4 separate regions of the Homo sapiens genome follow, and regions 2, 3 and 4 are each linked to region 1. The links are contacts of gene promoters, found by promoter capture Hi-C in human tissues and cell types (Jung and others, 2019). All regions are on one chromosome and are shown on one strand. Each heading gives the region's core, a stretch centred on a gene start or on the middle of the fragment in contact. The rest is flanking DNA. Distances are from core to core; before and after follow the strand shown. Region 1 holds the start of ZNF43 (zinc finger protein 43). Region 2 overlaps ZNF85 (zinc finger protein 85). Region 3 overlaps ZNF430 (zinc finger protein 430). Region 4 overlaps ZNF431 (zinc finger protein 431).

Evidence for each region. Contacts are between HindIII fragments. The study calls those that stand out against the background at their distance.
Region 2: a contact is called between a fragment that was not itself captured here and the fragment with the promoter of ZNF43 in region 1, in 1 of the 25 tissues and cell types used here (dorsolateral prefrontal cortex).
Region 3: a fragment that was not itself captured here is called in contact with the fragment with the promoter of ZNF43 in region 1 in 1 of the 25 tissues and cell types used here (spleen).
Region 4: a fragment that was not itself captured here is called in contact with the fragment with the promoter of ZNF43 in region 1 in 1 of the 25 tissues and cell types used here (pancreas).

The regions. Positions count from the first base shown.
Region 1 is chr19:21,832,204-21,838,546 of GRCh38, reverse strand. It overlaps ZNF43 (zinc finger protein 43), which reads left to right and starts at 2,365. Exons shown (of 4, transcript NM_003423.4): 1 at 2,365-2,511. The coding sequence starts at 2,509. RefSeq lists enhancers at 1,328-2,300, 2,412-2,571, 2,592-2,641, 2,682-2,771, 2,301-3,274. The HindIII fragment of the contact is 27,139 bases long and covers 1-6,343 here.
Region 2 is chr19:20,928,420-20,934,762 of GRCh38, reverse strand. It overlaps ZNF85 (zinc finger protein 85), which reads right to left. Exons shown (of 4, transcript NM_003429.5): 2 at 613-739. Among named protein-coding and RNA genes, the nearest start is that of ZNF85, 8.3 kb to the right of the region's middle. The HindIII fragment of the contact is 8,469 bases long and covers 1-6,343 here.
Region 3 is chr19:21,026,454-21,032,796 of GRCh38, reverse strand. The region is part of intron 2 of ZNF430 (zinc finger protein 430); the gene reads right to left. Among named protein-coding and RNA genes, the nearest start is that of ZNF430, 9.0 kb to the right of the region's middle. The HindIII fragment of the contact is 6,523 bases long and covers 224-6,343 here.
Region 4 is chr19:21,176,861-21,183,203 of GRCh38, reverse strand. It overlaps ZNF431 (zinc finger protein 431), which reads right to left. Exons shown (of 5, transcript NM_133473.4): 5 at 1-581. Among named protein-coding and RNA genes, the nearest start is that of ZNF431, 38 kb to the right of the region's middle. The HindIII fragment of the contact is 4,605 bases long and covers 141-4,745 here.

The sequences.
Region 1 (6,343 bases), core at 1,116-3,615:
ACATCTGTAATCCCAGCTACTCGGGAGGCTGAGGCAGGGGAATTGCTTGAACCCAGGAGGCGGAGGTTGCAGTGAGCTGAGATTGCACCACTGCACTCCAGCCTGGGTAATAGAGCGAGACTGTATCTCCAAAAAAAAAAAAAAAAATTTAGAATGGGCTATTCTGAAAGATGTAGCAATAATTATATTTGTGTTTATGAGTTTTTTTTATTAACCTCTACACTTGATAATGAAAGAGGTTTCCACTGCTAAAGGAAAATAAATCTCTTGATGCCAAAATTACTAAGCCACTAGAAAAGTCAAGTTGAGAACTATGTCAGGCAAATCTGCCTCCCATTTTATTTCTAAATAAGATAGCTACAAAGATAAAAAAGCTACATACTTTCTTTACAATTAGCCAACAAGGAAATTCCTTGAGAACCAAAGACAGACAGAACTCAGAGTCATTTCTCTGAGCCTCGCCTGAGACAAATGCACATCTGATTGCTTCCTCTGCACTGCTGTTAATTTAGATATGCAGGTTCACTGAGCCAGACTAAATTGTATTCAGTTGAATGCTTATCAAGGACTCAAGAATCCAGACTTTTATCTCTTATTTACTTATGACCTGGAAGCCCTCACCTCAAGTTGTCCTGCATTACTGGATCAAACCAAGAAAGAGAGAGAGGAAGGAGGAGGTGGAGAAGGAAAAAGGTAGGGAAGGAAGATCTTATACATATTGATTGATGTCTCATGCTTTCCTAAAATGTTTAAAAGCTGCTGGGCATGGTGGCTCACACCTGTAATCCCAGCACTTTGGGAGGCTAAGGCGAGCAGTTCACCAGGTCAGGAGACATCCTGGCTAACAGGGTGAAACCCTGTCTCTACTAAAAATACAAAAAATTAGCTGGTATTCATAGAAAATATAATTTTTAATTATCGAGTAATCTGAATAAATGAATATATCATAAAAAAATTAGCTGGGCATGGGGTCATGCACCTGTATCCCCAGCTACTTGGTAGGCTGAGTCAGGAGAATCGCTTGAACCTGGGAGGCGGAGGTTGCAGTGAGCCGAGATTGTGCCACTGCACTCCAGCCTGGTCGACAGAGCAAGACTCCGTCTCAAAAAAAAAAAAAAAAAAAAAAAAAAAGTAAGTGTAGGCAAATGTAGATGCAAATACACATCTGTTTACACAAATTCCTACTTTCAAAATCACAGAGAATGGTCACTTTTTAGCCTTTTTATGAATAAAATCCTGGATTCCATTTATTATTCCATTAGAACTTCTGTACCTATTTTGAAATTTGAGATTAAATTGTCTTTTGCTGAGTTTGCCCAGTTTATATTTCAAGTAATACTATATCATGGGAACACATTAGAGATTTTCTATATTTTTATGTTTTACATCAGTTTCTAAAACCTGGAAATTATCTTGTTTTGAATTTCTTATGAAAATGGAATACTATCCACTAAGAATATTCCATTAGCATACTGCAACTTAAAGTCAGGAGATCTAAACTTTTTCTGGTAACATTACCTATATTTAGTTTTTTAAAAAATGTTCTCTTTTTGTATATGCTTTTTAATTTGCTTTTAAAACATGTGCATAACATTTCCTTGAATTCTATTAATGGACCTCAATGCTTTAAAAAAATTTTTTGATAAAATAATTCAGTCTGAATGTGATGGTTCATGCCTATAATCCCAGTACTTTGGGAGGCTGACTTTGTAGGATTCATTGAGCCCAAGAGTTTGAGACCATTCTGGGCTATCTAGTGAGGCTTCATCTCTACAAATAAAAATATGATAACAAATTAGCTGAGCATGGGGCCACATGCCAGTGGTCCCAGCTACTCAGAAGGCTGAGACAGGTAAATTGCTCAAGCCTAGATTGCTGAGGCTGCAGTGAGCTGCAGTCATGACCCTGCACTCCAGCCTGGGTAACAGAGACTCCCTCTCAAGAATAAGAAAAACCCCACAGAGGATAAATAATAAAATATTCAATGTTTGTAATACTTCCTACTCAAAGGGCCAGAAGCCAGGAAGGTCATAAAAGCTGAAATTCAAAAACAATTGTTTTCATTTTTTAGTATCCATATAGTATATTACTTATAAGTGAAGATGACCTTATACACAAGGTTAAAGGCAAATACCCTCTGGGTTGGGCCTGCTCTGCTCAGGGAGGAAGCCCTGCCTGAAAAGGCGGCAGCCTAGGCTGTCATTCTTTCTTCTTTCAGCCCAGCGTCTGATCACATCTTTCATTCAGGGTTTGCGGGGGCAGGACCTTAGAAGTTATCCAATCAGGGACGCTGGGCTGGAAACCGTCCAATCAGGCACGGGGCAGGAGAGGACAGGGCGGCTTCCGGGATGTGGCGGGGCCTTTGTCTCTGGCTGCAGTTGGAGCTCTGCGTCTCGTCTTCGTTCTTCTGTGTCCTCTGCTGCTAGAGGTCCAGCCTCTGTGGCTCTGTGACCTGCGGGTATTGGGGGATCCACAGCTAAGACGCCAGGACCCCCCGGAAGCCTAGAAATGGTGAGAGTGCCGGTCCGACATCCCGAGAGGGGGAAGGGGCTGTGGCGTGACTCAGGCCTTCCCGCAGTCAGCTCCACAATCTGCGCGTGCCGGAGTTCTTGCCCAGCTCGGCCTCAATCCCCTTCAGCCATAAGATGGCGGCTGCTCTGGGAGGCAGCCCCGGGCGTCCTGTCTCTTCTCTGCGCAGTGACTGTGTCCCGGCCTGCAGCCCTCTGTGGGCAGCTCTGCAGCCGCAACGCGGCGTCTCTCCCAAATTGTGCAGGGGCCACAGGAGGGTCGTCAGGAGAGAATCCTGACTCGTGATGCAGTTTCATGAATAGGAAGAGCTTTGGTCCGTGGCATTTCTAGTCCCTCTTTTGGTCTATTAGAAACAGGAGAGTCGGCCGGGCGCGGTGGGTCACGCCTTTAATCCCAGCACTTTGGGAGGTCGAGGTGGGTGGATGACGAGGTGAGGAGTTCGAGAGCAGCCTGGCTAATATGGTGAACCCCGTCTATACTAAAAATACAAAAATTAGCTGGGCGTGGTGGCGCGCGCCTGTAATCGCAGCTACTAGGGAGGCTGAGACAGGAAAATCGCTTGAACCCAGGAGGCGGAGGATGCAGTGAGCCGAGATCGCGCCATTGCACTCCAGCCTGGGCCACAGAGTGAAACTCCCTCTGGAAAAAAAAAAAAAAAAAAACTAAACTAGATTTTCCTTTATTTCTGACATTCCCAAATGCCACCTTCTTCTCCGCAATTCACGTTATCAACTATTTTTTCTTTTTTTTCTTTTTTTTTTTTTTTTTGAGATGGACTTTCGCTTTTGCTGCCCAGGCTGGAGTGCAATGGTGCTATCTCGGCTCCCTGCAACCTCCGTCTCCCGGATTCAAGCGATTTTCTTGCCTCAGCCTCCTTAGTAGCTGGGATTACAGGTGCCTGCCACCACACCCAGCTAATTTTTTTTGTATTTTTAGTAAAGACGGGATTTCACTATATTGGCCAGGTGGTCTCGAACTCCTGAGCTCAGATGATCCACCCGCCTCAGCCTCCCAAAGTGCTAGGATTACAGCACTTAAAAATAGCCACCGAGCCGGGCTATTTTTTTTTTTTTTTTAGTGTACATTTTAGATACAGAGATACGTTTTAGATAAAGATATTTTAGATATCTGTATATTTTTGATACAGATATTTTAATTATTTTTTGAAAAATCATTGGATGGACTTAAATAAATTTTCCTTTCTTCTTTCCTTCTTCTTTCTTTCCTTCCTTCCTTCCTTCCTTCCATCTTTCCATCCTTGCTTCCATCCTTCCTCTCGCTTTGTTTCCCAGGCTGGAGTGCAATGGTGCAATCTCAGCTCATTGCAACCTCCCGGGTTCAACCGATTCTCCTGCCTCAGCCTCCCGAGTAGCTGGAATTACAGGCACCTGCCACCGTGCCTGGTTAATTTTTTTGTATTTTTAGTTGAGACAGGGTTTCACCTTGTTGGCCAAGCTGGTTTCGAACTCCTGACCTTGTGATCCACCCGCCTTGGCCTCCCAAAGTGCAAGGATTACAGGCGTGAGCCACCGAGTCCGGCCTAAATTTTGTTTTCTATTTGAAAATATTTTCCATATTGAAAAGAAAGCAAAAAATAATCCCCTTACACTGTTTGTAAAAAATAAAAATCTCTGTGCCTCTTTTCCTTTTCTTTTTTTCTTTACTTTTTTTTTTTTTTTTTTGAGACAGTGTTGCTTTGCTGCCCAGTCTGGAGTGCAGTGATGTGATCTCTGCTCACTGCAACCTCTGCCTCCCTGATTCAAGTGATTCTTTTGCTTCAGCCACTCCAGTAGCTGGAACTACCGGCACCTACCACCATTCCCAGCTAATTTTTGTATTTTTGTTAGAGACAAGGTTTTTCCATGTTGACCAGGCTGGTCTCGAACTCCTAACCTCAGATGATCCACCCGCCTCCGCCACCATGCCTGGCCTCTTTTTTCTTTTTGTTTTCCCTAGGCACAGGACTCTTTTTTTTCCCCCGCCCCGCCTTAAGATGGAGTTTAGCTCTTGTTGCCTAGGCTTGACTGCAGTGGAGCCATCTCAGCTCACTGCAACCTCTGCCTCCTGGGTTCAAGCGATTCTGCTGACTCAGCCTCCCGAGTAGCTAGGACTACAGGGATGCACTACCACGCCTGGCTAATTTTGCATTTTTAGTAGAGACAGGGTTTCCCCATGTTGGTCACGCTGTTCTCAAACTGCCGACCTCAGGAGATCCACCTGCCTCGGCCTCCCAAAGTGCTGAGATTATAGGCATGAGCCACCACACCCAGCCAGAGACTTTTTCAGAATGTTTTTAGGTCAAGTTTTTCCTTTCGAAAAATGTGGGTGATTTTTCCTCAGCCACACTTCATTTTGTTGTTTTTGTTTTTTTTTTCTGATCCTGGGTTTCAGTACTGTCTAGGGATAAACCAAGATAACCACCATGGCTATGTGTGCTACAGTGTCACAGCCTGGGTGTAGTGGCTCATGCCTATAATCCCAACACTTTGGGAGGCCGAGGTGGGTGAATCACCTGAGGTCAGGAGTTCAAGACCAGCCTGGCCAACATGGTGAAATCCCGTCTCAACTAAAAATACAAAAAAATTAGCTGGGTGCAGGGGCAGGCGCCTGTAATCCCAGCTACTTCGGGAGGCAGAGGCAGGAGAATCGCTTGAACCTGGGAGGCCGAGGTTGCAGTGAGCTGAGGTCGCGCCATTGTACTCAGCCTGGGCGACAAGAGGGAAACTCTGTTTAAAAAATAAATAAATAAAATAAAATAAAAATTATCATTTACCTTTCTCTTTCCCAGAGTGAGTTTAGGAATCTTCTCAGGTGTCTTTTATTTTATGGCTGGGTGATTTTCAACAGAATTCCAAGGCTTAGCTTTTAGAATGCTACCAAGGAAAAGAATAGGGAAAATCTATTTTATTTGGCTGTACAAAATTAATACATTTTTATAAGAAAACGTGGTATATAAGTGGTGAGTTACACAGATTCATAAAAACATCAGTTACTCTCTTTGCAGGGTAAATTTGTAGAGGTGATTATCTGTATTCTATATCCTATCATCTTGATTTCTGAGTTTAATGCTAAATTTTATGAGATGAAACTTGGTACCTCCTAGAAGTGTTTTCATATGACTAATTGTTTACCACATAATTTTTTTTTTTCAATTGACATGGAGTCTCACTCTGTTGCCCCACTAGAGTGCAGTGGCACAATCTCGGCTCACTGCACCCTCCATCTCCCAGGTTGAAGCAATTCTTCTCCCTCAGCCTCCTGAGTAGCTGGGATTACAGGCGTGTGCCACCACGCCCAGCTAATTTTTGTATTTTTGGTAGAGATGGGGTTTCACCATATTGGCCCGGCTGGTCTCGAACTCCTGACCTTGTTATCTGCCTGCCTTGGCCTCCTAAAGTGAGCCACTGCGCCTGGCTGGTTGTCTTGTTTAGTTAGTCTGTTCATAGTTTTCTTTGCTGTGCAGAAGCTCTGTAGTTTAATTAGGTCCCATTTGTCAATTTTTCCTTTTGTTGCAATTGCTTTTGGTATCTCCATCATGAAATCTTCTGGTTCTTATGTCTAGAATGATTTCCTAGGTACCTTCCAAAGTTTTTTTAAAAATAATTTTACATTTTAAGTTTAAGACTTTAATTCACTTTGAGTTGATTTTTGTATATGGTGTAAGAAAAGCATCCAGTTTCAGTTTTCTACGTAGTATTAGCTAGTTATTTTAGCAAATTTATTAAATAGAAATTTTTTTTTACATTTCTCTTGTAAGCTTTGTTGAAGATCAGATGGTTGTAGGTGTGTGGCATTATTTCTGGGCTCTCTATTC
Region 2 (6,343 bases), core at 1,177-3,676, 900 kb after region 1:
TTCTGTCACCCAGGCTGGAGTGCAATGGCGTGATCTCAGCTCACTGCAAGCTCCGCCTCCTGAGTTCATGCCATTCTCCTACCTCAGCCTCCTTAGTAGCTGGGACTACAGGACTACAGGTGCCTGCCACCACACCCAGCTAATTTTTTGTATTTTTAGTAGAGACGGGGTTTCACCGTGTTAGCCAGGATGGTCTCGATCTCCTGACCTCGTGATCCGTCCGCCTCAGCCTCCCGAAGTGCTGGGATTACAGGCGTGAGCCACCAAGCCTGGCCCAGTTTCTTAATTTTACTATCCAGTACTATTGAATCAAAAATTGGTGTTGGCAATTACATTTTAAGGTGTGGGCAAAAATTTTATGCCATTAAATTTGTGGAATTTAGTAATCTACAGTGAAGGATACAGATCAGCTCAGAAATTTGGAAAGTTAAGGTCAAAATGAAACATCTTGCAGAAATTCTTTTCTACATGTATTAATCCCCAAGATTTTCTTGAAAACAGGGATCTGAAACTAATTTATGCAAAGCACACTTTACCAGAAAAACATTCCACAAATAAAAGAAATAAAACCTTTAGGGCATATTAGAAATTGTGTATTGAAGTTATCCTCACCCAGGAAGACCAGGTTTCTGTAGTTCTCTAACATCACATTTCTATATAAATTCCGCTGTGCAGTGTCCAGGCATTGCCACTCCTTCAGAGAGAATTCTATGGCCACATCCCTAAATGTCAATGGTCCCTGAAAGATACACACACATACACATACACACACACACACACACACACACACACACACACACACACATAATTACCAACTGGTTATGAAAAGCATTTTTAATTTTACTCAAGGTGAAATGAGAGAGTACAGGTAACTGTTTCTGACTTACAGGAGTGACTAAAATTATAAAATAAAATAATTTTTTTAACACAGAAATATTCTCTAATATATTTTTTAACTCTAAGAAAAGAGAGTGGCATAAGATCCACAATACCAGTGTATACATGATACTTTTCTGGATGATATAGTATAAAATTAAGGGCATAAAAATGTGTATTTTTGGATGCCATATACACATTCTACAGAATGAGTTGTGTATATTTTTCAGATGGAAAAGACAGGTTGAGTTAGAAGGTACTTTTTAAATTTTAATGTGTACAATAAACTGGAGAACTTGTTAATGCAGATTATTTTTTCAGATGATCTGGAATAAAGTCTGATTGTCTGAATTTCTAACAAGCTCACCAGTAAGGTTAATGTTTTTGGCCAAGAAGAATATTTTGTCAAACATCCAGTAAGGGGAAGAACCTGTGTTTTTCCTAATTTTTCTGGCCTGTAAACAAAGATAAGAGCTTTGACTTTCCAAAGACAGATGTATGCAAAAAAAAAAAACTAAGAAAAAAGGGCAGCTGCTGGATTAACTGTGATGGTTTATGCACATTAGCTGCATTAAGATAATAATGAAGAAAAAATAATTATCTCTATAGTGACAAAATCTGTCAGAGAGCTCTTTAACCAAGTGAATCATTAACATGAACTGCACTAGGACAAATTTTTTTTTTTTTTTTTTTTGAGACGGAGTCTCGCTCTGCTGCCCAGGCTGGAGTGCAGTGGTGCAATCTCAGCTCACTGCAAGCTCCGCCTCCTGGGTTCACGGCATTCTCCCGCCTCAGCCTCCCAAGTAGCTGGGGCCACAGGTGCCCACCACCATGCCCGGCTAATTTTTTTTTTTTTTGTATTTTTAGTAGAGACGGGGTTTCACCATTCCCAGGATGGTCTAGATCTCCTGACCTTGTGATCTGCCTGCCTTAGCCTCCCAAAGTGCTGGGATTACAGGCTGAGCCACCGCGCCCATCCTAGGACATATTTTTATGATGTGTTGATGCACATGAAATGACACAGCATCACGGCTGTGATACTGCTCCTCCAAACTATAGTCTGAATTTTAACATTAAAAAATCAGTTTTATGCAAAGTTCAGGATACAGATATCTTCCCTGTCTATAATTTGTAATAGTAATTTTAAATCATCTTTCTTTAGCACCCTAGAGAGCAGGTATCTCCTGATAATTTTTTTTTTAGAACTTTCTGGGTAATAAATGTCATCTTGTTTAACTAAGCATTTCCTTGATCCTGTTTTGCACAGAGGTAATGGAGAATACAGATGGAACCTCAACATTACATGTTTTCCATCTTTACAAATGACTCCAGCTTTCCCCCAATAGAAATCTTGAGTATCCACACCTTTTCATGTTCAAGAGCCACAAAGGGAACATTTTTAATAGTGCAGATTATAAATTTGTGGTAGGAATTCTGCATGGCATATAAAAAGCCACAATGTAAAGAATGTAGAAAGGGCTCTGGTATATAGAAAAAAAATACTTTTCAGACACCCTTGACTATCATAAGAATTTTTACAAGTAGTTAAACTCTTTAGGGAGGGGTAATACAATAGAGAAGTAATGATTTGCATGGCATTCTAGGAGGCAAAGTGGACACAGCTCTTGATCTGAGACATGTTTTGCTTTAAAAAAAGAAGCCATTTTTTTCCTCTTTTTCCTCCTTTTCTGGGAATCCTTTCCAGATGAGATTCTTTGAACAAATTACAGCTGCATGTTGAGAATATGTCTTTAAAGATGTCAACATCAACTGCTCATCTGCTACCACCAGACCCACAGGCAGAAGGATCAAGACCTGCAGAAAAAGCTCACTCATTTATGTCCTTTATAATGGAAGAGATTCAGGAACAATGAGCTGCTCCATGGGTATCAAAATATGTTTCACTTTTCCTGTTCTCAGGTGCCCTCCCCTGTCACAGACACCAGCAATTTCTGCTACAATAATGAAAATATGGGCCATGGCCGGGCTTGGTGGCTCACGCCTATAATCCCAGTACTTTGGGAGGCCGAGGCAGGCAGATCCTGAGGTCAGAAGATTGAGACCATCCTGGCTAACACGATGAAACAGCATCTCTACTAAAAATAGAAAAAATTAGCCAGGCGTGGTGGCATGTGCCTGTAGTCCCAACTACTCGGGAGGCTGAAGCAAGAGAATCGCTTGAACCCAGCAGGCAGAGGTTGCAGTAAGCCGAGATTGCACCACTGCACTCCAGTGAAACTGCACCTCAAAAAAAAAAAAAAAAAAAGAAAAAGAAAAAGAAAAAGAAAATATGGCCACATTGCTCTGTCCCTACCAAATCCAAACAGAAACAGTCCTGCGGCCACCCTTTAGTGCAAAGGTGGAACTTAACTCATGAATGTATCTGGAACACCTCATACTTGATTCTGGCCTCAACTTAAGAGTCACATGAGGCACTTCATTACTACAACATGACTGCTTCCCCCTAGAACAATAAACAGAATCTGTGGAAAGGGCACAAGTAAAGAGATTTCTGCAAATTGGCCATGGAATCCTAATGAGAAGCCTGGGCTGATAACCACTTAGCTAAGCATTGCCTCTCAAGTTTTAATGAGCTTATAAATCACTTGGTAATTTTGGCTCCATTCTATGTAATATGATTCTGCAGGTTTGAAAAGAGTCCATGAATAGGTAACAACCCTGTCAGTGCTGATGTTGCTTCCCTTGGGCTCATTATTGGCATTAGAGAAAGCAGGCACAGCACAGGTTCCCTTACACTCAGCACTCTTGTCACAACCAAATACTTCTGGTACAAATAAAGACAACCCATCTCTGCCAGGCGCAGTGGCTCATGCATGTAATTTCAGCACTTTGGGAGGCCGAGGCAGGTGGATCACCAGAGGTCGGGAGTTTGAGACCAGCCTGACCAACATGGAGAAACGCAGTCTCTACTAAAAATACAAAAAAATTAGCTGGGTGTGGTGGTGCATGTCTGTAATCCCAGCTACTAGGGAGGCTGAGGCAGGAGAATCATTTGAACCTGGGAGGCAGAGGTTGTGGTGGGCCAAGATCGTGCCATTGCACTCCAGTCTGGGCAGCAAGAGCGAAACTCTGTCTCTAAATAAATAAATAAAATCCATCTCCATCCTTAAGTATCATATTCTTTGCTGGCTCATTAAAGTTTACAGAGGAAACAGAAGGCAGCAATGTTTGAATAAGCCTGCATTTGGCAACAACATGTACACCTGTACTAATGCAAGATATATTAAGCAGGAACTATGTACTCAAAAGGATGTTAAAAAGCACTGTGTTGGCCATAACACATTACGTGATTTCATCATCATAACACCCTGAAAGATGTTATTAAGTGTTTAATAATTCTTAGGATTTAAATAAAGAGCCCTGCCTTTCCATTTCTTCTTGTTTCTCTGTCATTGATTTTTTTTAATTGCATAGAAGAAAAGCTAAATATAGACAGATGAGAGGAATACAGAAAGGAAAGTTTAATGTATTTTAGAGAAGTTTTTTACTGTGTTTGTATTTAATTTTATGTGACTTGCAGAGCAACTACTGGATTTGCAAAAATAGAAAACAAGTTGTTAAATAGAATGTTTCTGCAAGCACTCACTTTAATACAAAATTTAAAAATTAAGACCCTAAAATACATACTTTATTTTTACCATTTATCTGTTTTGGGGTTTAAGGAAATTGTGAGCATGAACTCTAGAAAGGCAGAAGGATTCACCAGACAAAAACTCTGATTTCTTTTTTTTTTTTTTTTTTTTTTGGGACGGAGTCTTGCTCTGTCACCCAGGCTGGAGTGCAATGGCATGATCTCAGCTCACTGTAACCTCTGCCTCCTGGGCTCAAGAGATTCTCCTGCCTCAGCCTCCCAAGTAACTGGGATTACGGGTGCATGCCAACATACCAGGGTAATTTTTGTATTTTTTAAGTAGGGATGGGGTTTCACCATGTTGGTCAGGCTGGTCTCGAACTCCTGACCTTATGATCTGCCTGCTTTGGCCTCCCAAAGTGCTGGGATTATAGGCGTAAGCCACCACGCCTGGCCCAAAACTTTGATTTCTTCTAACAAATTGTGTGAGGCAAGACTCCAGGGTGGGGCCAGACCTAAATAAGGCCTCCAAATAGGTTAAATCTAAACAGAACTGGGGCAGGGAGAGGACCCTATGTAGAACTCTGTTCTCTATGCCACTAGGGTATTTCCAGTTCTGTTTTTCCTAAGCTTACCTAAGAGAAACTTAAATCCCAGAGTTTGTGTAATCTTAATCTTTTTAAGCCAAGCCACTGCCCCCTCAATTTTATAACATATACTAAGAAATTTAAAGAAATATTTTAAGGTTTTCTAGGGTAATTTTATTATAAGATACATATGTATTCTTAGCAAGGTTAAAGAAATAGAAATAGGCTGGGTGCAGTGGCTCATGCCTGTAATCCCAGCACTTTTGGAGGCTGAGGTGGGATCACAAGGTCAGGAGTTTGAGACCAACCTGGCCAAGATGGTGAAGCCCTGTCTCTACTAAAAATACAAAAATTAGCCAGGTGTGGTGGTGTGCACCTGTAGTCTCAGCTACTTGGGAGGCTGAGGCAGAAGAATTGCTTGAACCTGGGAGGCGGAGGTTGCAGTAAGCTGAGATCATGCCATTGCACTCCAGCCTGGGTGACAGAGCAAGACGGTGTCTCAAACAAAAAAAAAAAAAAGAAGAGATCAGTTTTTGTCTAGTGAATCCTGTCACTGTACTCCAGCCTGGGTGACAGAGCAAGACTCTATCTCAAAAAAAAAAAAAGTAAGAGCTAAATAAGAACACGTACACAAAGAAAGAAACAACAGACACTGAGGCCTAGTAAGGGTGGAGGGTGAGATGACAAGGAGAATTTGAATAAATATTGGTTTGGTGCTATGCTTAGTACCTCTGTGAGAAAATAATCTACACCAAACCCCCGTGACACAATTTTACCTATATAAGAAACCTGCACGTGTACCCCTGAACCAAAATCAAAAGTTAAAAGAAAAAAACTTCATGGGTGGGGTAAAGTGCAATGTAGGTGGAAGGACTGTAGGTTTTTGCTACAGACAGCGGTCCCGGTGGGGCTGTACTCTGATTTATTTGTGCCTGTGCAGGCAGATGAGATTATGAACAGGTGGTCCAGAACCCTAGGTTGGTGGAGAAAACAGTTTGCTGCTGCAGATTCAGTGTCTGGGGGTTGGGATATGCCAGGAGACTTGTAGACACTCTTGTGGGATTTTGGCAAGAAATACTAGGATCCACAATGCTGTGGTGAAATTCCTGAGGATGATGACTAGTCTTGAGAGGGATGTGGACACGTCAATGTCTAGTGTGTGTGAGTGGGTGGGACTCCTGTGGTGGCAGCTGCAAGAAAAGGGGGTCTGTCATCAGAGGTCCTTTCCTCTAAGTTTTCAGTCCACAGTCACCCTGGGAGGAGACCTGGAATCACAAGACAATGGGCA
Region 3 (6,343 bases), core at 2,236-4,735, 810 kb after region 1:
CTTTTTTTCTTCAGAAGATCTGGAGTAAAGTCTGAACTTCTAAATTTCTTTCTTCTTTTTTTTTTCTTTGAGATGGAGTTTTGCTGTTGTTGCCCAGGCTGGAGTGCAATGACACCATCTCGGCTCACTGCAACCTCCGCCTCCTGGGTTCAAGCAATTCTCCTGCCTCAACCTCCCAAGTGGCTGGGATTACAGGCATGTACCACCATGCCCAGCTAATTTTGTATTTTTAGTAAAGACGGGGTTTCTCCATGTTGGTCAGTCTGGTCTCGAACTCCTGACCTCAGGTGATCCGCCCACCTCGCCCTCCCAAAGTGCTGGGATTACAGGTGTGAGCCACCACACCCAGCCAACAAATTTTTATGATGTGCTGATGCACATAGAAGAACACGGCATCACTGCTAAGATATTGCCCCTCAAACAGTAAATTATAATCTGAATGCAACCATAAAGATACATCAGTTTTATACAAAGTTCAAAATACAGATATCTCCCATGTTCTGTTATTTTTAACAGTGATTTTAAGTAGTCTTTCTTTAGCACCCTAGAGAGCAGGTATCTCCTAATAATTTTTTTCAGAACTTTCTGGGTAATAAATGGTATTCTGTTTAAATAAGCATTTTCTTAATCCTGTTCTGCATAGAGTTAATAGAGAAAACAGATGAAACCTCAACATTACATATTCTCCATCTTTACTAGGGACCCCAGCTTTCCCCCAATAGGAATCTTGAGTATCTACATCTCCCCATGTTTAACAGCCACAAAGGGAACATTTTTAGTAGTGCCGATTATAAATTTATGGTAGGAATTCTGCGTGGCATATAAGAAGCCATGATGTAGAGAATGTAGAGAAAGCTCTGGTATATAGTAAAGAAATGTTTTGCAGACAGCCTTGAATATTATAAGAATTTTTTAATGTAGTTAAAACAAACTCCTTAAGAAGGAAAAACACAAATCGAGAAGTAAAGATTTGCAAGTACTAAACACATGGCATTCCATGAAGCAGAGTGCACACAGCTCTTCTTCTGAGACACGTTTAGCTGAAAAAAAGCCATTTTTTCTCTTTCTTTCTCTGAAAATCCTTTTTAGATAACATTCTCTGGACAAGTTATACCTGCATTTTGAGAACGTTCCTTTAAAAATGTCAGCACCACCTTTTTGTCTGCTACCATCACGCACACAAACAGAAGGAAGGTCCTGCAGAAAAAGTCCACCCATTTCTCTGTCCTTTATAACAGAAAGGATTCAGGAACAACGAGCTGCTCTATGAATATAAAAGTATGTTTCTCTTTTCCTGTCCTTAGGTGCCCTCCTCTGCCACAGACACCAGCAATTTCTGCTACAGTAATGGAAATATGAGCCACACTCCCCTGTCCCTACCAAACCCAAACAGAACGGGCCCTGAGACCACCCTTTAGTGCAAAGGTGGCACTTAGCTCTCATGAATGTATATTGAAGCCCTCATACTTGATTCTGGCCTCACCTTAGAGTCACATGAGGCACTTCATTAAAACAACATGGATGCTTCCACCCAGAACAATAAACGAAATCCATGGAAAGGGCATAAGTACAGAGATTTCTGCCATGTAATCCTAATTAGAAGACTGGGCAGAGGCCGGGCGCGGTGGCTCACACTTGTAATCCTGGCACTTTAGGAGGCCGAGGCACATGGATGACCTGAGGTCAGGAGTTCAAGATCAGCCTGGCCAACATGGTGTAACCTCATCTCTACTAAAAACACAAAAAATTAGCCAGGAATGGTGGCGGGTGCCTGTAATCCCAGCTACTCAGGAGGCTGAGGCATAAGAATGGCTTGAACCCAGGAGGCGGAGGTTTCACTGAGCCGAGATTATGCCATTGCACTCCAGACTGGGTGACAGAGTGAGATCCTGTCTCAAAAACAGAAAACAAAACAAAACAAAAAAAACAAGACGGGGCTGATAACCACTTAGCTAAGCACTGCCTCTCAAACTTTAATGAGCTTAAAACTCGTTTGGTAATTTTGGCCCCACTCTACGTAATGTGGATCTGCAAGTTTGAAAAGGGTTCATGAATGCGTGTTTCAAACAAGTTCCCTGTCAATGCTGATGTTGTTCCCCCTGGGCTCATTAGCATTAGTTAGAGAAGCAGGTACAGCACAGAGTCCCTTACACTTAGCACTCTTGTCACAACACAAATACTTCTGGTACAAATAAAACCAATCTCCATCTTAAATTTTTATATTCTTCGCTGGCTCTTTAAAGTTTACAGAACAAACAGAAGGCGGCAATGTCTGAATAAATCTGCCTTTGGAAAATAACATGTACACATATACAAATGCAATGTTTATTAAGCAGGTACTATGTGCTCAAGGATATGTTACAGAGCACTGTGCTGGGAATAACACATTTTGTGATTTAATCCTAATAACACCCTGGAAGTTGATACTAAGTGTTCAATAATTCCCAGGACTTAGATAAAGGGTTCAGCATTTTTATTTCTCCCTCTGTTTCTCTGTCATTGATTTTGTTTTAAAGGTATAGAATAAAAGTTAAATACAGGCAGATGAGAAGAACATAGAAAAAGTTTAATGTAGTTTAGAGAAATTTTTATTGTGTATACATTTACTTGTTTGTGGCTTGTGGAGCAACTGCTAGATTGGCAGAAACAGAAAACAAGGTGCTAAATGGAATGTTTCTGTAAGCACTGGTTTTAATACAAATTCAAAAAATAAGATCCTAAAATAAATAGTTTATTTCTGTCATTTATCTGTTTTTGGGTTTCAGAAAATTGTGAGCACCAGCTCTAGAAAAGCAGCAGGACTCACCAGACAAAACTCCAGTCTTTTTTTTTTTAGATGGAGTCTCGCTCTGTCACCAGGCTGGAGTGCAGTGGCACAATCTTGGCTCAATGCAACCTCCGCCTCCCGGGTTCAAGCGATTCTCCTGCCCCAGCCTCCTGAGCAGCTGGGATTACAGGCATGTGCCACCACGCCCGGCTAATTTTTGTATTTTTAGTAGAGACGGGGTTTCACCATGTTAGTCAGGCTGGTCTCAAACTCTCGACCTCATGATCTGTCTGCCTCGGCCTCCCAAAGTGTTGGGATTACAGGTGTGAGCCACCACACCCAGCCAAAACTCTGATTTTTATAAATCAGTTTTGTGAGGTAAGGCTCCAGAGCGGGGCCAGACATAAATAAGGCCTCCAAAAAACGTGAATCTGAACAGAATTTGGGCAGGGAAAGGACCCTATGTAGAATTATGTTCTCTCTGCCACCAAGGTATTTCCAGTTCTGTTTTTCCTAAGCTTACATAAGAGAATCTTAAATCCCAGAGCTTATGTAACTTTAATCTATTTTTGCCACTGCCCTGTCAATTTTATAACATATACTAATAAGCAATTTAAACAAATTTATTAAAGTTCTTTAGAATAATTATACTAGAAGATAAATATATATTCTTAGCAAAGTAAAGGAAACACAAATAATAACAAATCTTCACTCCATAAATATCTCCTCAGCTGATGGTATCAGAAGTAACAATATAAAACAGTGGCCCCAATTTTTTTTGGACACATCTATTCATTGTACCAACCATATAATGCTTAATTCACCCATGTATCCAGTTGTTAGTCTAGACATGTTCCTGGATAGTAAGGATCATGACTGCTTCATCTGTTTTTTGAATGGCCATATAAAATGAAAACAATTACTTTATCTGTTTGAGTCACCAGACCTCCTATTGCTTTCATCCAAGTATCAGGAAACTTGAGAAACTCTCATCTGGGTACCAACCAAAGTTATCTCTTGTATAAGGGGAGAAAAAAACACAGAATTGCCAGGCATGGTGGCTCACACCTGTGATCCCAGCATTTTGGGAGGCTGAGGTGGGCGGATCACAAGGTCAGGAGTTCAAGACCAGCCTGTGCAATATGGTGAAACCCTGTCTTTATTAAAAATGCAAAAATTAGCCAGGCATGGTGGCAAGTGCCTGTATTCCCAGCTATTTGGGAGGCTGAGGCAGAAGAGTCACTTGAACCCGGGAGGCGGAGGTTGCAGTGAGCCGAGATCGCGCCACTGCACTCCAGCCTGGGCGATAGAGCAATACTCCGTCTAAAAAAAGAAAAAAAACCCTAAAAAAACCACACACACACAGAATGACTCATTTCTCTTACACCAAGCCAGAAGCAGAATTAACCACTCTTGTCAGCCTGACACAATTCTGCCCTGGACATCCTCAAATGTCTCAAAGACGTCTAGGTGATTGTGAGAGGGTTCTTAGTGACCCTGGGCTGATGGCCCAATGATAATCCAGGCTGGAGAGATTCAGGCTGATTCTAAATAGAAAATGGCCTGGTGGAGCTCCAGAACCTAATCACTTGTCCCAATTTGCTAGCTTTTGGGTAAGGAGAAAGACAAGAATACTCTACTCCAGTATCACATTTTACAGGTAGGTATAGTTGTGGTCATGGCTATGGATACATTATGACTTTGATATCTCACTCTTAAAATGCTGATTCTGTCATCAGATTCTATTTATATCTGGAGCCTCTCACATAACTGTGGCAAATCACTGAACAAGATCTGAAAAGCTTAAAGAACCACACTGTCAAAGGGGGCTTTAAGATGTCTATGTTGACAACTCACAATGGAGAAAATGCCTCCTGTTGGTTTTCTGTACATTCTCAACCTAAAGTCTGGCCGTGTCCTGTAAATCCCAGGAAGAGGCCAGACCTTATGTGCAGATTCTAGGTAGGATCAACCACACTCTGCATTCTTGGGTGTTACAGCAAGTGGAGTACAATCAAAGGAGAGATCCCCTCATAGAGGCTGCTCTAGCTCATTCTACGTGATATGACTACCTAAAAGGAAAAAGCTGAGGCAACATGAATATAAGAGTTTATTTGGGCCAAGCTTGAGAATAGTAACCTGGGAGCAAAGACACATTTTCCAGAGACTGAACAAATAAGAAACTGAATCCCTGAATAGACCAATAACAAGCTCCAAAATTGAATTAGTAAGAAATAGCCTACTAGCCAAAAAAAAGCAAAGAACCAGACAAATTCCTAGCTGAACTCTACCAGATGTACAAAAAAGAGCTAGTACCACTTCTACTAAAAATACTTCAAAATATTGAAAAGAAAGGACTCCTTTTCAACTCATTATATATAAGAATAGCATCATTCTGATATCAAAACCTGGCAGAGATTAAAAAAAAAAGAAAACTTCAAGCCAATATCCTTGATGAACATTGATGAAAATACCATCAACAAAATACTGGGAAACTGAATTCAGAAGAACATCAAAAAGCTAATCCACTATAATCAAGTAGGCTGCATCTCTGGGAGGCAAGTTGGTTCCATATACAATCAATAAATGTTATTCATCACATAAAGAGAACTAATAACAAATACCAAGATTATCTCAATAGATGCTAAAAATACTTTCAATATAATTTAACATTTTTCATGTTTAAAACCCTTAACAAACTAGGCATTGAAGGTATATACTTCAAAACAATGAGACATCAACGACAAACTTACAGCCAACACACTGAATGGACACAAGCTGGAAGCATTCCTCCTTGAAAACTGGCACAAGATAAGGATGCCTTCTCTCAAACATCCTATTCAACATAAAATTGGAAATCCTGGCCAGAGCAATCAGAGAAGAGATGAAAATAAAAGGCATCTGCCGGGCATGGGGGCTCACGCCTGTAATCCCAGCACTTTGGGAGGCTGAGGTGAGCAGATCACGAGGTCAAGAGATCGAGACCATCCTGGCCAACATGGTGAAACCCCGTCTCTCCTAAAAATACAAAACTTAGCTTGGCATGGTGGCATGTGCCTGTAGTCCCAGCTACTCAGGAGGCTGAGGCAGGAGAATCGCTTCAACCTGGGAGGCGGAGGTTGCAGTGAGCCGAGATCACACCACTGCACTCCAGCCTGGCGAGAGCAAGACTCTGTCTCAAAAAAAAAAAAAAAAAAAAAAAGAAAAGAAAAGAAAAAAGGCATCCAAACAGGAAGAAAGGAAGTCTAACTATCCCTGTGTGCAGATGACATGATTCTATATCTTCAAAACCCTATAGTCTCAGCAGGAAAGCTCTTTAAACTAATAAACAACTTTAGCAAAGTTTCAGGATACAAAATACACGTACAAAAATCAGTAGAATCTCTGTACATCAAAACATCCAAGCCAAAAGCCAAATCAAAAACATAATCCCATTCACAATTGCCACAAAAAGAATAGAATATCTAGGAATACAGCTAATCAGAATGGTGAAAGATCCCTATGACAAGAATCACAAAACACTGCTTAAAGAAGTCAGAGATTGGCCGGGCACGGTGGCTCACGCCTGTAACCCCA
Region 4 (6,343 bases), core at 1,194-3,693, 660 kb after region 1:
GGACCGGTTGAAGGCTTTGCCACATTCTTCACATCTATATGGTTTCTCCCCAGTATGAATTATCTTATGTGTAGTAAGGGTTGAGGACTGCTTAAAAGCTTTGCCACATTCTTCACATTTGAAGGGTTTCTCTCCAGTATGAATTCTCTTGTGTCTAGTAAGGGTTGAGAACCATTTAAAAGCTTTGCCACATTCTTCACATTGGTAAGAATTCTCTCTAATATGAATTCTTTTATGTTGACTTAGGTGTAAAAGCATGCAAAATGATTTGCCACATTTTTTACATTTGAAAGGTTTCTTTCCAGTATGTCTTGTCTTATGTCTATTTGCATTTAAAAATTTATGAAAGACTTTCACATATTTATCACATGGAAATATTTTGCTCTGGGTAGTTGTCAAACACTGGTTTAGCTCATTATAACCTTCTTTGTGCACCTTATACTCATCTACACTTGCGGAGCCTTTTCTTAACTGTAAATTCTCATGTTCACATTTGCCATATCTTCTCAGTATTACTTGTTGAAAAGAATCTTTTATGTCTTGCTCTGGCCAAAGGTCTTTGGTAAAATAAGAACACATAGCTGAAAGAAATACAAACAACAAATTATTCAACTTACTAGACTCTGATAAACATACTTTACAAATCTAACCTACATTATACAAACTACATAAACAAGATGCCATAATAAAATACCATAGGCCCTAAATCCTTCATAGACATATAAATCTAATAAAAATATACTGACCAAAATATATTTGAGGACAACTTATAAACAAGTGTGTAAAGTTCCCCAGGTGAGCACACAGGTGAGTACACAGGAATGCAAAGACACAGAAGAAAAAGAAAAGTCTGTTACATTTACCCAACACAGTTCTTCCTACTCAACAATACAACATAGTGCCTTTCAAAGTAAATTGCTAACTTTTCGTTTCTTTTTTAATAAACAAGTAAAACACTGGCACATACATCTATATTACTTGCTTCTAGGGGCCCTTCCAGAAACTGGTCTCCCATAACATAAAGTGCTGAAAGAAATGGTGGTATATTTTGGAATTACAGTTTACTTCTGCTGAGACCAAAGGTAAATGTTACAGCAACAGAGAGACTGCAGTACCACAGACAGGGAACAGATACAGCAAATGACTGCTGATTAAGATGAAACAGAAACTCCTTTAACTAAAAAATAAACACAAAATTTTAGACAAGACACATTCAAAGAACATGTTTGAGAGTCTCACAGGATCTCAAACCAAGATAATTGTTTTCAGACTATGCCAGGACAAAGCTACATTATAAACAATGTGACAGGTAGCTATATTTAATGTCCAAATATTAATCAAAGATTACAATGAATACAAAATAGGGCAAAATCGCTCCACCAAAATTATAAGATTTTCAGAAAGAAACCATAAAAAAGATGTATACATTAATTTTAAAAATTTAAAATAAATTGAATACTCAATGAGTAAAATAAGGACACAGACAACTATAGAAAATCAGAAAAAATGAGAATAACAAAAATATTTAAAATATCCAAAAACAGAAATTGTAAAGGAAAATATAACTAAAAAATTCTGAAAGAAAAAATAATGTCAAAATGAAGAAGCTCAACAAATACACTAGGATACACATAAAGATATTTATAACAAACACATATATAAGCACAATTTCGAAAGTCACAGACAAGAAGAGAATGGAGCTGCAAGATAAAAACGACATGTCATTTACAAGCATAGTCTTATGAGATAGCCGGTGAACTGTCAACAAAAACTTTGCAGGCCAGAAGGAAACTGTGTGATATAGTCAAAGTCCTGAAAAAAATAGCTATAAAGTGAGAATAATACCATCAGCATATCTGTCCTTCCAAGTAAAAAGAAAAAAAACCTTTAAAAATAACCAAATACTGAAAAAGTACATTGGCTTTTCATATGCCTTACATATAAAAGATGCTGAAAACCGTTGCTGCTACTGAAAATAACATGATTCAACAAAACAACACATCATATAAAAGACATTATTCTCTGGGAAAAAAAATGCACATACACAAAAATGGAATTTCTTAGCATTATAATAATAGTGCAAAAAATATTAATTATTCTCTAAAATTTGAAAGGTACAAGAATAGAAATCATTATAAACATTTGTTAGCAAATATACAACATAAAATATACAATTAGCAACATCAATGACAAATTTGAAGGCAGATATAATGAGAAAAAATTTTTGGATGCAACTGAAGTTCTTTTTTTTTTTTTTTTCTTTTGATATGGAGTCTCACTCTGTCGCCAGGCTGGATGGTGCAATCTTAGCTCACGGCAACATCCGCCTCCTGGGTTCAAGTGATTCTCTTGCCTCAGCCTCCCGAGTAGCTGGGACTACAGGTGTGCACCACCATGCCCAGCTAATTTTTGTATTTTTAGTAGAGATAGGGTTTCACCATATTGGCCAGGGTGGTCTCGATCTCTTGATCTTGTGATCTGCCTGCCTCGGCCTCCCAAAGTGCTGGGAATATAGGTGTGAGCCACGACACCTGGCCTGAAGTTCATTTTTTACCAGATTAAAATACATTGTTGTATCTTTTAGAGGTTTTATATAATCCCCAAGGTAACCCCAAGAATACGTTTGCGTAAGTACACAAAACAAATGAGAAAGAAGTAAAAGCATACCAAGATAAGTACAACAAAGACACAAAGACAGAAAAAGAGAAAATGAGGAACAAAGATACAAGAAGCAAATACAACAATTAACAAAATAACAATAGTAAGTCTGCATAAGTGGAGAAAAATAAAATTCTTTTCAGACAAGCAAATGCTGAGGGAGCACATCACCACCAGGCCTGCCTTGCTAGAGCTCCTGAAAGAAGCACTAAGGTTAAGAAGAAAAAACCATTACCAGCCATTGCAAAAACACACTGAAGTACAAAGATCAATTATGCTATAAAACAACTACATCAACAACTCTGCAAAATAAGCAGCTAGCACTACTTGGACAGAATCAAAATCACACATAAAAATACTAACCTTAAATGTAATAGGCTGAATACCTCAACTGAAAGACACAGAAGGGCAAGCTGGATAAAGAGTCATGACACAGTTTGGGACCAGCCTGACCAACATAGTGAAACCCCATCTCTACTAAAAATACAAAAAATTAGCTGGGTGTGGTGGTGGGCGCCTGTAATCCCAGCTACTCAAAATCCCGCAACTACAACGAAACTGAACAACCTACTCCTGAATGAATTTCCTGAATGAACAACTTGCTCCTCTTTATTTCTGGGTAAATAATACAACTAAATCAGAAATCAAAAAATTATTTGAAACCAATGAGAATGAAGAGACAATGTAGCCGGGCGTGGTGGCTCACACATGTAATCCCAGCACTTTGGGAGGCTGAGGCGGACAGATCACCTGAGGTCGGGAGTTCGAGACCAGCCTGACCAATATGGTGAAACCCCGTCTCTACTAAAAATATAAAAATTAGCCTTGCTTGGTGGCCGGCACCTGTAGTCCCAGCTACATGGGAAGCTGAGGCAGGAGAATTGCTTGAACCTGGGAGGCGGAGGTTGCAGTGAGCCGAGATCACACCACTACACTCCAGCCTGGGGTCAGAGCGAGACTCCGTCTCAAAAAAAAAAAAAAAAAGACAATGTAACAGAATCTCTGGAACACAGCTAAAGCAGTGTTAACAGGGAAATTTATAGCACTAAGTACTCACATCAAAAAGCTAGAAAGATCTTAAATGGACACCCTAACATCATAACTAAAAGAACGAGAAAACCAAGAGCAAACAAAACTTCAAGCTAGCAGAAGACAAGAAATAACCAGATTCAGAGTGGAAGTGAACGACATAAAGACCCAAAAAACCCTTCAAAAAAACTCAATGAATCCAGGAGCTGGTTTTTTTTGACAAAACTAATAAAATAGACTGCTAGCTAGACTAATAAAACAAGAGAGAAAAATGCAATAAACAATAAAAAATGATAAAGGGGCTATCATCACTGACCCCACAGAAATAAAAACAATGTTCGGAAAATACTATAAACACCTCTGTGCACATAAACTGGAACATCTAGAAGAAATGGATAAATTCCTGGACACATCCATCCTTTCAAGACTGAACCAGGAAGAAGTTGAATCGCTGCATAGACCAATGACAAGTTCTGAAATTGAGGCGGGAACAGCCTACCAACAAAAAAAGTCCAGGATCAGATAAATTTATAGCTGAATTCTACCAGAGGCACAAAGAGGATCTGGTACCATTTCTTCTGAAACGATTCCAAATGATGGAAAAGGAGGGGCCTCTCCTTAACTCATTCTATGAGGCCAGCATCACCCTGATATCAAGACCTGGCAGAGATATAACAAAATAAAACAACAACAACAACACACACACACACACACACACACACAAACCTTCAAGTCAATATTCCTGATAAACATCAATGCAAAAATTCTCAATAAAATGCTGGCAAACTGAATCCAGCAGCACGTCAAAAAGCTTTATTCCCAGGATGCAAGGCTGGTTCAACATACAAAAATTGATGTAATTCAAGTCAGCTTTATTCCCGGGATGGAAGGCTGGTTCAGCATACAAAAATCGATGTAATTCATCACATAAACAGATCTAAAGACAAAAACTACATGATTATCTCAAAAATGCGGAAAAGGCCTTCGAACAAATTCAACATCCCTTCATGTTAAAAACTCTCAATAAACAAGGTATTCATGAAACATACATCAAAATAATAAGATCTATGACAAACCCATAGCCGATATAAAAGGGCAAAAGCTGGAAGCATTCCCCTTGAAAACTGGCACTAGATGAGGATGCCCTCTCCCCACCACTCCTATTTAACATAGTATTGGAAGTTCTGGCCAGGGAAATCAGGCGAGAGAAATAAATAAGTGATATTCAAATAGGAAGTCAAACTGTCTCTGTTTGTAGATGACATGATCCTAGATCTAGAAAGCCCCATTGTCTCAGCCCAAAAGCTTCTTCATCTAATAAGCAGCTTCAGCAAAGTCTCAGGATACAAAATCAATGTGCCAAAATCACAAACATTTCAATACACCAACAATAAACAAACAGAGAGCGAAATCATGAATAAACTCCCATTCACAATTGCTACAAAGAGAACAAAGTACCAAGGAGTAAATCTAACAAGGGAAGTGAAGGACCTCTTCAAGGAGAACTACAAACCACTGCCCAAGAAAATCAGAGAGGACACAAACAAATAAAAAAGATAGAAAGAATATTGTAAAAATGGCCATACTGCTCAAAGTAATTTATAGATTCCATGCTATTCTGACTAAACTACCACTAACATTCTTCACAGAATTAGAAAAAAAAAAAATTTAAAACTCATATGAAAACCCAAAAGACCCCATCTAGCCAAGATAATTCTTTTTGTTTTTTGAGACAGAGTCTCACTCTGTCACCCAGGCAGGAGTGCAATGGCATGATCTCAGCTCATTGCAACCTCCGCCTCCCAGGTTCAAGCGATTCTCCTGCCTCAGCCTCCCAAGTAGCTAGGATTACAGGAATGTGCCACCATGCCAGGCTAATTTTTTGTATTTTTAGTAGAGACAGGGTTTCACTATGTTAGCCAGGCTTTTCTCAAACTCCTGACCTCAAGTGATCCACCCGCCTCAGCCTCCCAAAATGCTGAGATTACAGGCGTGAGCCACTGTGCCTGGCCTAGTCAAGAGAATTCTAGGCAAAAAACACAAAGCTGGAGGCATCATGATATCCAACTTCAAACTATACTACAAAGCTGTAGTAACCAAAGCTGCCTGGTACTGTTATAAAAACATACATATAGACCAATGGAATAGAATAGAGAACTGAGAAATAAGATTGCATATCTACAACCATTTGATCTTTGAAAACCCTGACAAAAACAAGCAATGGAAAAGGATTCCCTTTTAATAAATGGTGCTGGGAGAACTGGCTAGCCATATGCAGAAAATTGAAATTGGACCTCTTTCTTATGCCTATAAAAAATTAACTCAAGATGAATTAAAGACTTAAATGTGAAACCCAAAACTACAAGAACCCCTGAAGAAAATCTAGGCAATACTACTCAGGACATAGGCATGGGCAAAGATTTCATGATGAAAATGTCAAAAGCAATTGCAAGAAAAGCAAACATTGACAAATGGGATCTAATTAAACTAAAGAGCTACTGCACAGCAAAAGTAATTATCACCAGGTGTGGTGGCTCACGCCTGTAACCACAGTGCTTTGGGAGGCCAAAGGGGGTAGATGAGGATGGGGTCAGGAGTTCAAGACCAGCCTGGCTAAGATGGTGAAACCCCATCTCTACTAAAAATACAAAAATTA